Regions from separate parts of the Homo sapiens genome. Here region 2 is linked to region 1. Evidence: promoter capture Hi-C in 16 types of primary human blood cells and fetal thymus (Javierre and others, 2016). All regions are on one chromosome and are shown on one strand. Each heading gives the region's core, a stretch centred on a gene start or on the middle of the fragment in contact. The rest is flanking DNA. Distances are from core to core; before and after follow the strand shown.

Region 1 (6,009 bases), core at 1,054-3,553:
TTCCTGACCTCGTGATCCGCCTGCCTCGGCCTCCCAGAGTGCTGGGACTATAGGCGTGAGCCACCGCGCCCGGCTGCACTTCTAATGAATTGCCAGGTGATGCTGATAATGCTGGTCCAAGAGCCATACATTAAAAACCAAGGTACTAATACTAGCCACATGACTATCCTAGGCAATTCTTCTCCTAGGTACATACAACCAAAAGAAATGCATGTGTTCACCAAAATACATGTACAAGAGTATTCACAGAAGCTTTTTGTTAGCTAATAACTAGAAATAACCCAGATGTCCACTGTTAGAATAAATTGCGCCGTACTTACGGCTATACAACATATATTTATACAATGGAATATTACACAGCAATGCGAAAGAACTACTACTTCACACAATATGAATGTATACTTATGTAATCATTAAAGCAAAAAGAGTGTCTACATTCAATAAAGCACCTACTGTATGATTCTGTTTATGAGTCAAGAACAAACAAAACTAACTGATGGTGATGGAGGTCAAAGCAGGAGTCAGCAGGACAGTAAGAAGAATTACTGGCTGAGAAGGCGCATTAAGGAGCATTATGAATGGAGATACTCTGTATCTTAATCTGGTGGTGTAAACATGTGAAAACTCATCAAACTATAGACTTAAAATCTGTGTTATTTACATAAATCATATATGCCTCCATAAAAATTTTTAAAGTAAAAGAAGATGGAAAGTGACAATAAAATTCATTATGTTAATACTGTTTAAAAGCAACTTTTATATAAACTGGATTCCCAAAGGAAGCACTAGGTCTAACACGACAATAACAAATGTAAATTAAAAGTCATAGCTGTCTAGCTAATACAAGAAATTATGGAGAAAAATTCTCAGTGCTTCCTGTAACATTATCCCCAAACTCATCCCAGAAGCCTTACTCCCAGTATCTAAAGGTCTATATATTTAGGTGTAAAAAACACACCTGGACCCTAAAAGGCCTTATAGGACCTGGCTCCTAGTTTCCTGTCCAACCTCTCTTAATCAAATGGGCCCTCTAATAAAAAGGGCCTTTTTGTTGCTTCACATACAGGCCAACTTCATTCCTACCTCAAGATCTGCACTGGCTCTTGGTCCTGCCTGGAATATTCTTTCCCCAGAGCTTCCAAGTTAATTCCCTTGTTCCTTCAAATCTCCACTCAAAGATCTCCTCAACGGAGGCTCTAGTACCATGTGGCACATTTCTTATAAAAGTCATAGCTAGAAAAGACGCTGTCTTGCCTCAAATTGTTAAACGTAACAGCAAAACAGGTTTCCTCTTTTCTGTGATTTAACGCAAAAACAAACAAAAACTCCTGGCTAAATTCTGTGACCCGCAGCATCATTTATCTTTAGGTTCTCCTTTAATTCTTATTATTTAACTCTTGATCTTTTACATTCCTTTACAGCTTTATGGTTTGCCTTCATTGCACACCTACAAAAAGTGATTTCTAGGTTAGCTGAGTATATAACCAAGACTTTAACCCACAGCAATCAGCGCCTTTGCACACAGCCACTCCAAAAAAAAATTTTGATGAATATACAAATGAGTGAATAATGAATTGTGATAAGACATCTGGAAAGTTTCAGGGACGTGAGGGAAAAGGGTTTTGCTCCAGTAGACTGACTTCATACCGACACTTTTACGTAAGAATGGCAAGAATTATTGTCAAACGAAAAAATTAACTTCATCGAGCCCAGAGTCCACTTCTCTAATCATAAATGTCATTAAAAAAAAAATCCTTTCAGCCAAACTACAAATGCCAACCATGCTCCCAAGAAATAGAGGAGGTTTTTCTCAGGAGCTGTAGGGAGTGGAAAGGGCAAGACAGGAGTCTGGGGTAACGCGGCTACCGTGTAACAGAGAAAAGAGACGGAGAATCTCAATACCGGAGCTGAGACGCAGCATCAACAAGAGCCTGGGTCCCTGTCCGGCGGTGCGGGGAGAAGGCGGGTCAGCGGGGACCCGAAGTGGCCCAGCTCCCCTAAGAAGAGTGGAGGAAGCAGAAATGGGCTCTCTCACCTCTAACGCCGCCTGGGGGTCCTCGTCGATTAGGGCATCCGAGAAGCTCTGGAAAAACCTGTCAGGAAAACAACGACTTCAGCAGGGCTCACTAGCCAAGGAAAGGGGGATAAAATAAATACCAAAGGGAAAGAAAAACATGCACCTCTGGGATGTTGCAGTTCCTGCTGCAGCCGCCGCCATCCCTCGTAGTCGCTGTTGCTGCCGCCGGAGCTGCTACTATCACGGTTACCACCTCCACCACCGCCCAAGGGGGAAACTTCTGGAGAAACACCAACCGAGCTTCCGTCCTAAATAGCCAGCGAGCAGCCACGCAGCGTGCTGCTAGGGGGACGGGAGGCGACACGCCGGCGCGGGGCCGGCTGGGACAGTGGAGGACCGATTCCTCCCAGCCGCACCCCGGCCCAGGACCCGCGCTCCCAGTCCCCGCCCCTCGCAGCCATGGTTACGGAGGCCTGGGGCGTACACGTTCTTCCTCCCTTCCACCGCGCCCACGCCAGCGGGCACTCCCACGGAGCTTTCAGTAGTACTTTAGAAGCACTTTTGTAACGTACTGTCATCCCTAAGGAACGTGTGGCGGTTAGGGGCGTTTGTATGTCTGTTAATAACGGAAGCTACTTCGAGCTCCCATTTTCCCTAGTTTTTATCATGGCTGCCACAGCTAGCCAAGCCCTTTCGCCTCCATTACGTCTTTAGCGGCTGCGTGGTCTCTTCCGGGAGCAGAGGCCCGGATGACGCGTGGATCCCCGCGATCTTTGGGCTGGGGATTCTAAACGACTGGGACTTGCCGGAAGTCATTCTGCACTAATAGCGGCAAAAAGCCTTCTGGTTCCTGGGGCGACGCGCCCGGCGGCCGTACTATTCACTTCCCCAGAACGCCACAGCCCAGGCTTTCTTCTTAGTGGGCTTCCCAGACCAAGAAGGGAAACCTTTCATCCGAAGGTACTGAGGGGAGGAAGGTGGCCTGAAGTTATCTCAGTGCCGCTTTGTTTCCCACCCCAGTCGGTCAGCCCTTCCTCAGCGCCCTTTAACCCTTGCAGATCGGATGGAGAAAGCTGCCAGCACGTTCTAGGGATGGGGGCAGATTGAGGAGCGGGAGGGAGTAGTCTTTGTCTAACTTTATACCAGTACCAAACTATGTTAATTTAATGTAGTTTTATAATAAATCTTTAAGTCCTGTAACTTATTCTCCCAAGATTGTTTTGGCTTATTCTACGGCCTTTGTATTTCTAGGTGAATTTTGGAATTAGCTTGTTAAAAAGGGGGGGGATTTTTTATTGGGCTCGCATTGAATCTATAGATCTGTTTGGGAAAACTAGTATCTTAACAACAAGTCCTTCAATCCATGAATATCATTCTTCCCCCACCATTTATTTAAGCGGTCTTTAATTTCTCCTGGCAATATTTTGTAGATTGCACATATATCTATATTTTAATGCAGCTGTGCTTGGATAGATTGCAGTATAGAGATCATATATATCTTTCATTAGATTTATTCTTGAGTATTTAGTGTTTTGTATACAATGTTAAATGGCATTTTGACTTTTTTATATTCTACTCGTAAGAATAAACAATATTGATTTTAACATACTGACCTTATATGCAAGCATCTTGCTAAGTTCCCTTGTTATTTGTAATACTCTGTAGATTCTTTCGGAATTTCTGTGATCAAAATCTTGCAATCCACGAATAAAGATGGTTTAACTTCTCTGTAACCTTTATACCTTTTATTTTTATTTATTTTTGCCTTTTGTTGCTGGCTAGTGTTTCCACTATTGAATAAAAACAGTGATAATGGACTTCCTTGTCTTGGTCATAACATCAGGAGGAAAGCATTGAATATCAACTGCTTTTTCTGCCTTTATTGAAATGTTCATTTGTATTTTTTAATGTTACTGTGAATTACCTTGGTTAGTTTTCAAATGTTATCTAAATGGCCAATTGTCCTTCTGGACCCCACTGACTCCAGTTGGGATGGCACTGTAAGAAGAGAGGCAGAGTCAGTGAAGGAGACAAGGTTTATTCAGGATTTACATACAAGGGTGGTCCGGTGGTGGAGGGCTGACCTGGAGAACTGCTACCATTTGTAAAAAGCACGTAGTCTATATAGCATTTTCACTTAGCACTCTCCTTCTAGCAACCTCCATTTAACCCCAAAGGGCCTTGATCTGTACAGCGTAAGATACGGGCCAGGGATGTGGATGTCCTTCATAGATAAGGAGTGAATCTCTGGGTTGGCTGCTCCTGGATTCCTTAGCCCAGGACTCCAAACGTAAGTTCTTCTTAGACCATAGGGTTAGTCTCAGGTATGCTCCGGTTATGGCTCAGCCATACACTAATGTGTGTACACCAGCCTCTGCCATGCACCAATACACATATATGTATGGCCTCTGAAAGGGTGAATTCCAAGACCGCCCTATGGGCCCAACATGAAAAGAAGTTCTATATATTATGGACATTGAAATCAATGAGATACCAAAACTACCACCAGAATGGCTTAAATTAAAAGGACTTCCAATACCAAGCACTGACAAGGATATGTAGCAACTGTATCTTTCATATATTGTTGGTGAGAGTTTAATCATTTTGGAAAACTGTGGTACCGTATGTCTGTTCTTGCATTGCTATAAATGAGACTAGGTAATTTATAAAGAAAAAATGTTTAATTCACTCATGGTTTTGCAGACTGTACGAGAAGCATAGCAGTTTCTACTTTTGCAGAGGCCTCAGGAAGCTTCCAATCACCGCACAAGGCAAAGGTAGAGCAGCCATCTTACATGGCAGGAGCAAGTAGGGTGGGGGTAGGTGCTACACATTTTTAAACAACCAGATCTCACAAGAATTCACTGTTGCAAGGACAGTACCAAGAGAGGTGGTACTTAACCATTCATGAGAAACCCACCCCTATGATCCAGTTACCTCCCACCAGGCCCCACCTCCGACATTGGGGATTGCAATTTGACATGTGATTTGGGTGGGGACACATATCCAAACTATATCAGACACTATCTACTAAAGCTAGTTATACACAGACCATAACCCAATAATTCTACCACTGGGCATATACCCAAGAGTATTTATTATTTATGATCATGTAGAAGAATATTCATTGCAGCATTACCCAAGGTAGCAAAAACTGGAAATAATCTAAATGTCCTTAAATAGGAGAAAAAAATATTACATAGCAATAGGAATGAACGACTACTACACACAACGATATGGATGAAGCTTATATACATAAGTTGTGGTAAAAAAAAAAAAAAGCCAGACGGAGTACATCATGATTGATTCCACTTAGATGAGAGGTATCATAAGGGAACCTCCTGGTTGTCAGGGAGGGTGGGGAACAGGAGCATGAAGAAATCTCGGATGCGGGAAATGTTACATATCTTGATCTGGCTGGTAATCACAGCAGTGTATTCAAACATAAAATTTTATCAAGTTATGCACAAGATTTGTGCAGGCTGGGTGCAGTGGCTCACGCCTGTAATCCCAACACTTTGGGAAGCCAAGGCAGAAAAATCACTTGAGCCCAGGAGTTCAAGACCAGCCTGGGCAAGATGGTGAGACCTCGTCTCTACAAAAAATAAATAAATAAAAAACATTAGCCAAGCATGGTGGCGCGTGCCTCAGCTACTTGGGAGGCTGAGGCAGGAGGATCGCTTGAGCCCAGGAGGTTGAGACTCTTATCGTGTTACTGCACTCCAGCCTACGTAACAGTGTGAGTCTCAACAACAACAACAAATTGTTCACTTTGATTTTGCAGATTCGTTTGAGGAGAAATGATATATTTCCCTTGTATTGCCTCTTCCAGTCCATGAACATAATTGCTTGTTTCATTCAGTTATTCGTATGTCTTTTAGTAAAGTTTTTATAATTTTCTCCATAAATTCTTGGCATCAGTTTATTGAAATCTTGGGAGGAAGGACAGACAAATGCTTAAGAAGTTATTAATAAATGTTTTCAGCCGGGCA
Region 2 (5,506 bases), core at 2,667-5,166, 4.4 Mb after region 1:
AAACAAAACCACCACCACAAACGAAAAGCTTAATTATCAAAACCTTCAGTCTTGATTGTGTGAATAGGGAAAACCAGAAAGGGTAAAGAACCAGGGTCTAAACAGCCATTTGTCATGGGTAACTCAAAACTTTTACTGGGTGAGTCGGCCTTCACTTTCTCTCTTGCACTCACCCTGCCACTATTTTCTCTCCTATATCAGCACTTTACTTTTCTCTCTCCTTTTAAAGAATATCTACAAAGTGGGGTAGAGAGAAAGCAACACTATTTGTCAGCAAAACAACTTGCAGGGATACATATGAAGCAAGCTTAAGCTATTCTGTGGCCTGATACTGGAAAAGGGGTTTCATAAGCAGGCATTGCAACAAAGAGGTGCTGACAACTTCACTGTTCACTGTGAGGTAAACAGAAGTGACAATGTGCTTTATTACATAATACCTCTACCCATCTCCTTTCTCTTTGACCCACTGCTACTTGATATGAGGGAAGAATGTAACATGTTAAACACCAAAAGGAAGAAAGGGAATAGTCTGGTTAGAGTGAGGAGGTAGTTGCTATTTTTCACAATTAAAACAATTTAATGTCTGCCAAATATAATTATGTAATCCTAGCATCTTCATAGATTTTTGAAACTGGAAGAATCCTTACAGGCCATCTGGTCCTACCCTCTCATCTTACAGACAGAAAACCTAAAAATTTAAGCCCAAGATCAAGTAGTTATGTAATGACAAAACTGGGACTTCTGATACAGTACATCAAGTATTTTGTTATCTGCAAATATAAAACAATTTCCCAAGGTTCAAAGTATTGCCACAAAAATATATGAATTGTTGCCTATAGCATAAAACATGTATATAATTTCAAATTCACTTCTGCTACCCAAAATACATCCCATCTTTGCTGTCTCTATAGCTCTAAGAGCTTTATGCCTACTAGGAGAGGAGGAAGGTGAAAACAATTAAGGGGAAAATGCAGGAAAAGAATAAACAGCAAGCTAGTTGAGATAAAACTATCAATAGAAATGGCTGTTAGGATTAATAGCTGCTGAAAAGATAAGACTGAAAAATGGGGTAATAGAACTGTTTCTGGAGAGTTCTCACCCTGCAGAAGAAAAAAATAGAAAGACAGGAGCAATGTAAAAGTACTGGAATGCATGTTATATAAGCCAGCTGATTAGAGTGATCAGAATTCTTGTGGCATAAGGTAACAGAATCTGCATTTTAAAACCAGAGCAGGTGGTCCCTAAGAGCACATTTTGGAAAACAATGGTCTGCGGGATATTGTGATCTGGGAGGGTTAAAGATAAGAAAAATTCTTGTTCAGGAGTTCTAGGCCATTAACTAGCTTGGTTTGATTCTTTCAACCAACCAGGCAAAGGAAATGCCCTCGGCAAAACACATTAAGGCTGATTCTGTTCCCAGTCCAGGCAGTCAGACAAGGTGGCTGCCACAGAGCCACCCGCAAGGAGCCAGAGAACATTATGTAATCACTGCCCAAGCTCTGAAATGAAGAGATCAGAACTTCTTTCACAAAAGTCTGTCATTAAGGTTTTCCTTTTCCCGTTAAGCGACTGACTGATTATAAGGATTCTACTTTTAATGTAGAGAAATATTTTGTCATCCCCTAAAGAAGTCTTTCAGCTTATAGCTGGAAAAAGAATTAGTCATTTTTTATCTACCAACTCATCCGTGACTGCTGGGTGGTTTACAAAGACGACTCTGGCCCTCACTCTTTAGTCCCAGTAGTATTTTTCTTTGGATATGGAGGATCTGAGAAAATAAAAAATGGAAAACAAAGCACGGAGCTACCAATGATTACTTATAGCTGCAATGACCACAAAATTTAAATATGGTGAACTCGTGAGCAATTTTGAGAATCTGGCAGAGTCACTATTTCAGAAATGACAAAAATTGTCAGAAGTCAGATTTAATGGTGCTCAGCAAATGTAATTCTGATGTTTGTCCAGAGTTTCAAATCTCCACTACAGCGGAACAGAGAAAAGCTGTCTGAAGTGACATCATCCAATGCTCGCTCACTCTCTCCTTTCTAAATGGGAGCAGTTATATTTGTTAATAGGATTTTTAAATGTATGTGTGTATATATATATATGTGATAGCATTAAGACTACATATATTTGAGACTGTTGTGACTGGATACTTGACTCTCAATCTATTTTAGGTACAACGAATGTTAGATAAACAAAGAGCTAACATAATAATTTGCTACTGCAATTTTCATCTGTGCATTCCAAACATTTTCTTTAAAGACCAAGATTGTTTGCAATGGCTTCAGGAAAACAATACCAATACGAAAACCAAAACCTTTAATCCTTTTAGGGAATCAGTTCACTGTTCCTATTTCAAGGCAAGGCAAGTCATTTAGAAATCAACCTCTGACGTGTCTGTTTTTATCAGAACATTTCCAGAAAGTAAGATTACCATTATATTCTGAAGATAGATTATATTCAGAATATAATAAATTATAATATGATGTCTAGATTACCATTATATTGTGAATTTTTTACAGTATATTAGTGGCCTGTTTTTCAGCAATAATTTTCATTCGTCCATATAAAAACTCCCATTATTCATACGTGGCACACCAATTTTTTTAAGTTAAAACTAAATTTACCCTACTGATAATAGGTCTTGAAAAATGCTAACAACAACAAAAAATAAGATAAGCAACATAACTTTACAGTTAATTTCTAATTTTTGCAGCCTAAAAAGGGTCTGGGTAAGAGGCTGTGGGCTTTTTTAACTTATGAGACAATTACACTCATATTTAAGTAAATATGATCGTAACCTACTAAAAGTCAACACAGTAACAGCCCCACTTCATGAATTTTCCTAGGATTAAAGGGAGATTTTGTAAAATAAAGGAGAATTTTATTAGGGACCCGGGGGCAAATTTCTCATGTTTAGTTTCACGCAGCAGGAGTCCTCACAAAGACGCTGATACAATTTAAATGCCAACAATTGGTTTTTCACTAACATCCACATAGTCATTACTGGCCTTTACTAGTAATGGTAAGAGACAGCCCAAACCTACTTCGGGCGGACTGTCCCTTCGTCCCCTCTCCAGGTGAAGTTCACCTGCCACTACCGAAGGGCCGTGGAAAAAGGAGGTAAAGAAACGCTTTTAAAATTAAGACGCTTACAGTTGCTGGACTTAGTCCAAGTGCTGTTCAAGCCTAGAAACGAAAGTGGGAAACAACAGAGGTTTAGGCTTGTAATGATGTCAGCCATTTTAGGTACATTATTTATACTGGGAAGGAAGTGCCAAACTCGGTTGTTGTTGTTGTGCCTGTCGCTGCCGGTCCCCAGATCGAACAAGCCAAGTCCTGGCTGCACGCACGCTCCCCGGACTGCACAAACGACCGGGAATTCGGCACAATTAGCCAATCGTTCCCTCTCCAGGCCTCCCAAGCCCCCGACCCCGCGTCAGGCACCGCTTCCAGCACACGCACTTCCTTACAAAGGAGCTGCGGACCCACAGGAAACGGGAGCGCCGGGCTCTCTCGGGGACTTGTCCCCGCGGCGCGAGCCCCGCGCCCGCCACCTCGGGGCGCACTGCCGCTGCAGTCCGCGCAGCCCTCCCCGGCCGGGCCCAGCACCCGCTTCCTCGACCTCCCCGGGCTCGGACCTTGCAGTCCACCGCGACGGCGTCGGGGGGGATGATGAGCGCCTCCTCGCCGCTCTTGGGCTCGTCCTTCTTGGCCTCCTTCTGGGCCAGAGCGGAGTTGAACGTCACCTTCACCATGGCGCGGCCTGGGGCGCCCTCGAAGGGCGGCGGCGGGCTCGGGGCGCGGGCTGCGGGCTCCCGGCTGCGATTGCAGCCTCTACGGCCGGGCTCCGGGAGCGGCTCCGGGCGGCTGAAGAGGTTCGGGAAGCTCCGCGGCGGCAGAGGCGGCTACTGCGGTAGGGATCTCGCAGCCTCCCAGCTCCCGCGCGAGGGCGGAGACTGCTCGCACATCCCCTGGGAGGCGGGGCGGGGGCGGGGGCGGGGCCAGCGGCCGGGGGTGGGGTGCTGCGCGGGACCCTGCCCTCGCCCCGCAGCTGGGCGCCGGATCCCGGCGCGCCTCGGAGAGGGATGGGTGTCCCTCTGGGCCGCCTGGAATTTCCAGTTCTGAATTCGCTCCCAACCAGGTTACCTCCAGGCCGAGTGCTGCAGGTTTGTAGCGAAATCGAGTGAACTTTCCTGAGTTCGCCGGGTACAAGGGACTAACCTTTGGCAGCACCAGACCGCCGCTTCCCTGTACCCTGTCCCCACCGCGAGCCTAAAGGCCATGGAATTTTTGTGCATCCACATCTTCATTTTCTCACTTATTAGGTAACCGACTCAGTGGAGCACAAACATGTTTAAAGCTCTCTGTCCTTGAGATCTGACTTTATCTTTCACGGACCTCACCCAAGGGCGTTTACCTGGCTCAGACCTGCCTGGTCTTCCTTCCCTCTCTCAGGAGGTCAGGGCCTGTTCTGCCTAGTCCCAGACCAATGTGGAGGAAGCTCTTGGCAGATTTGTATTTCAAACATCTCACACTCGTAAAACGAAATGTTCCACTCTTGTGCGTACTTGGAAAAAAACCACATGCACACTTGGCTGATTTGTGACTCAAAGTACTCGATGACGAGTCCCTTTATTTTTCTGCAAAATGAAAAAATAATTAAGGATAACGCAAAATTCTCATGTTTTGAAGACGTTTCATTTACAACTAATGCGAGGTAGAATACTGGCTCCCGTCGTTACTGCGTTCATTACTGTGTCAACAGACGGCCCCCTTGGACAAATGTGTTATCTTGTATCCTTCCACCCCATTCTGTCCTGGTTCATCCAGAGTTGTGGGTGTGCTCTAGAATGTTACAGCTGTGTCAGCTCTGCCTTGGGCCAACCCTGAAAAAAGTGGGTTCAGTCTGAGATCTTTGGGGATTTGGCCCTGCTCAAGGAGGGAGTTGGGTATTTCCATAGAATGTCAGATCATAAGTCCCAGGGAAACAGCCCAAGATCTCCAAATCCTTCTGTTCATGTATTTCAGAAGCATCCTGGGCTGAGATAGAAACCCAGGCCAGACTTTGAGTTTGCTTTGGGTATTCAGAAATTCCTGTCAAAATGAAATCTGCTCAACCAAGAGGAGGATGAGTTAGGTTCCAGTTCTGGTGAGTTTTAACAGTAGCTAACCATACTTGCAGCAACTTATTTAAACTCCTGGGTCGCCCTTGTGCAGGCATCGGCTCTGTGAGGTTGACTCTATGGACTGGACTTTCATAGTATCTAATGTTATCTAATTCCTCAAAGTCAACGACTGCTTCCAGCTCCCTAGTTTAATAGGTTCCCTGAGACATTACAGTTGAAGACTAAGTATTTCTGGAAGCAAGATCTGGAGGATTATAAATAATTATATGTACATCCTTCCTACTTCGTTCTGTGTTAAAATAAGATGGTAGAAAAATACTCAAGGCATTTTGCAGTAGATGATAGAGAAGAATCTGGCTGTCATTATACTCCGG

What was found. The method cuts DNA at HindIII sites, captures the fragments that hold promoters and counts their contacts. A CHiCAGO score of 5 or more calls a contact.
Region 2: the fragment with the promoter of ITM2B here is called in contact with the fragment with the promoter of SUGT1 in region 1 in 1 of 17 cell types (fetal thymus); the score reaches 6.3 in fetal thymus.

What each region holds. Positions count from the first base shown.
Region 1 is chr13:52,649,130-52,655,138 of GRCh38, reverse strand. It overlaps SUGT1 (SGT1 assembly cochaperone of MIS12 kinetochore complex), which reads right to left and starts at 2,303. Exons shown (of 13, transcript NM_006704.5): 1 at 2,181-2,303; 2 at 2,036-2,093. The coding sequence starts at 2,218. SUGT1-DT (SUGT1 divergent transcript) reads left to right here and starts at 2,832. Exons shown (of 1, transcript NR_170300.1): 1 at 2,832-3,834. RefSeq lists enhancers at 1,823-1,942, 2,052-2,553, 2,663-3,002 and a silencer at 2,303-2,572. The HindIII fragment of the contact is 4,517 bases long and covers 255-4,771 here.
Region 2 is chr13:48,231,616-48,237,121 of GRCh38, reverse strand. It overlaps ITM2B (integral membrane protein 2B), which reads right to left and starts at 3,916. Exons shown (of 6, transcript NM_021999.5): 1 at 3,645-3,916. The coding sequence starts at 3,761. RefSeq lists enhancers at 1,016-1,603, 2,708-3,405 and silencers at 3,461-3,670, 3,681-4,040. The HindIII fragment of the contact is 15,181 bases long and covers 310-5,506 here.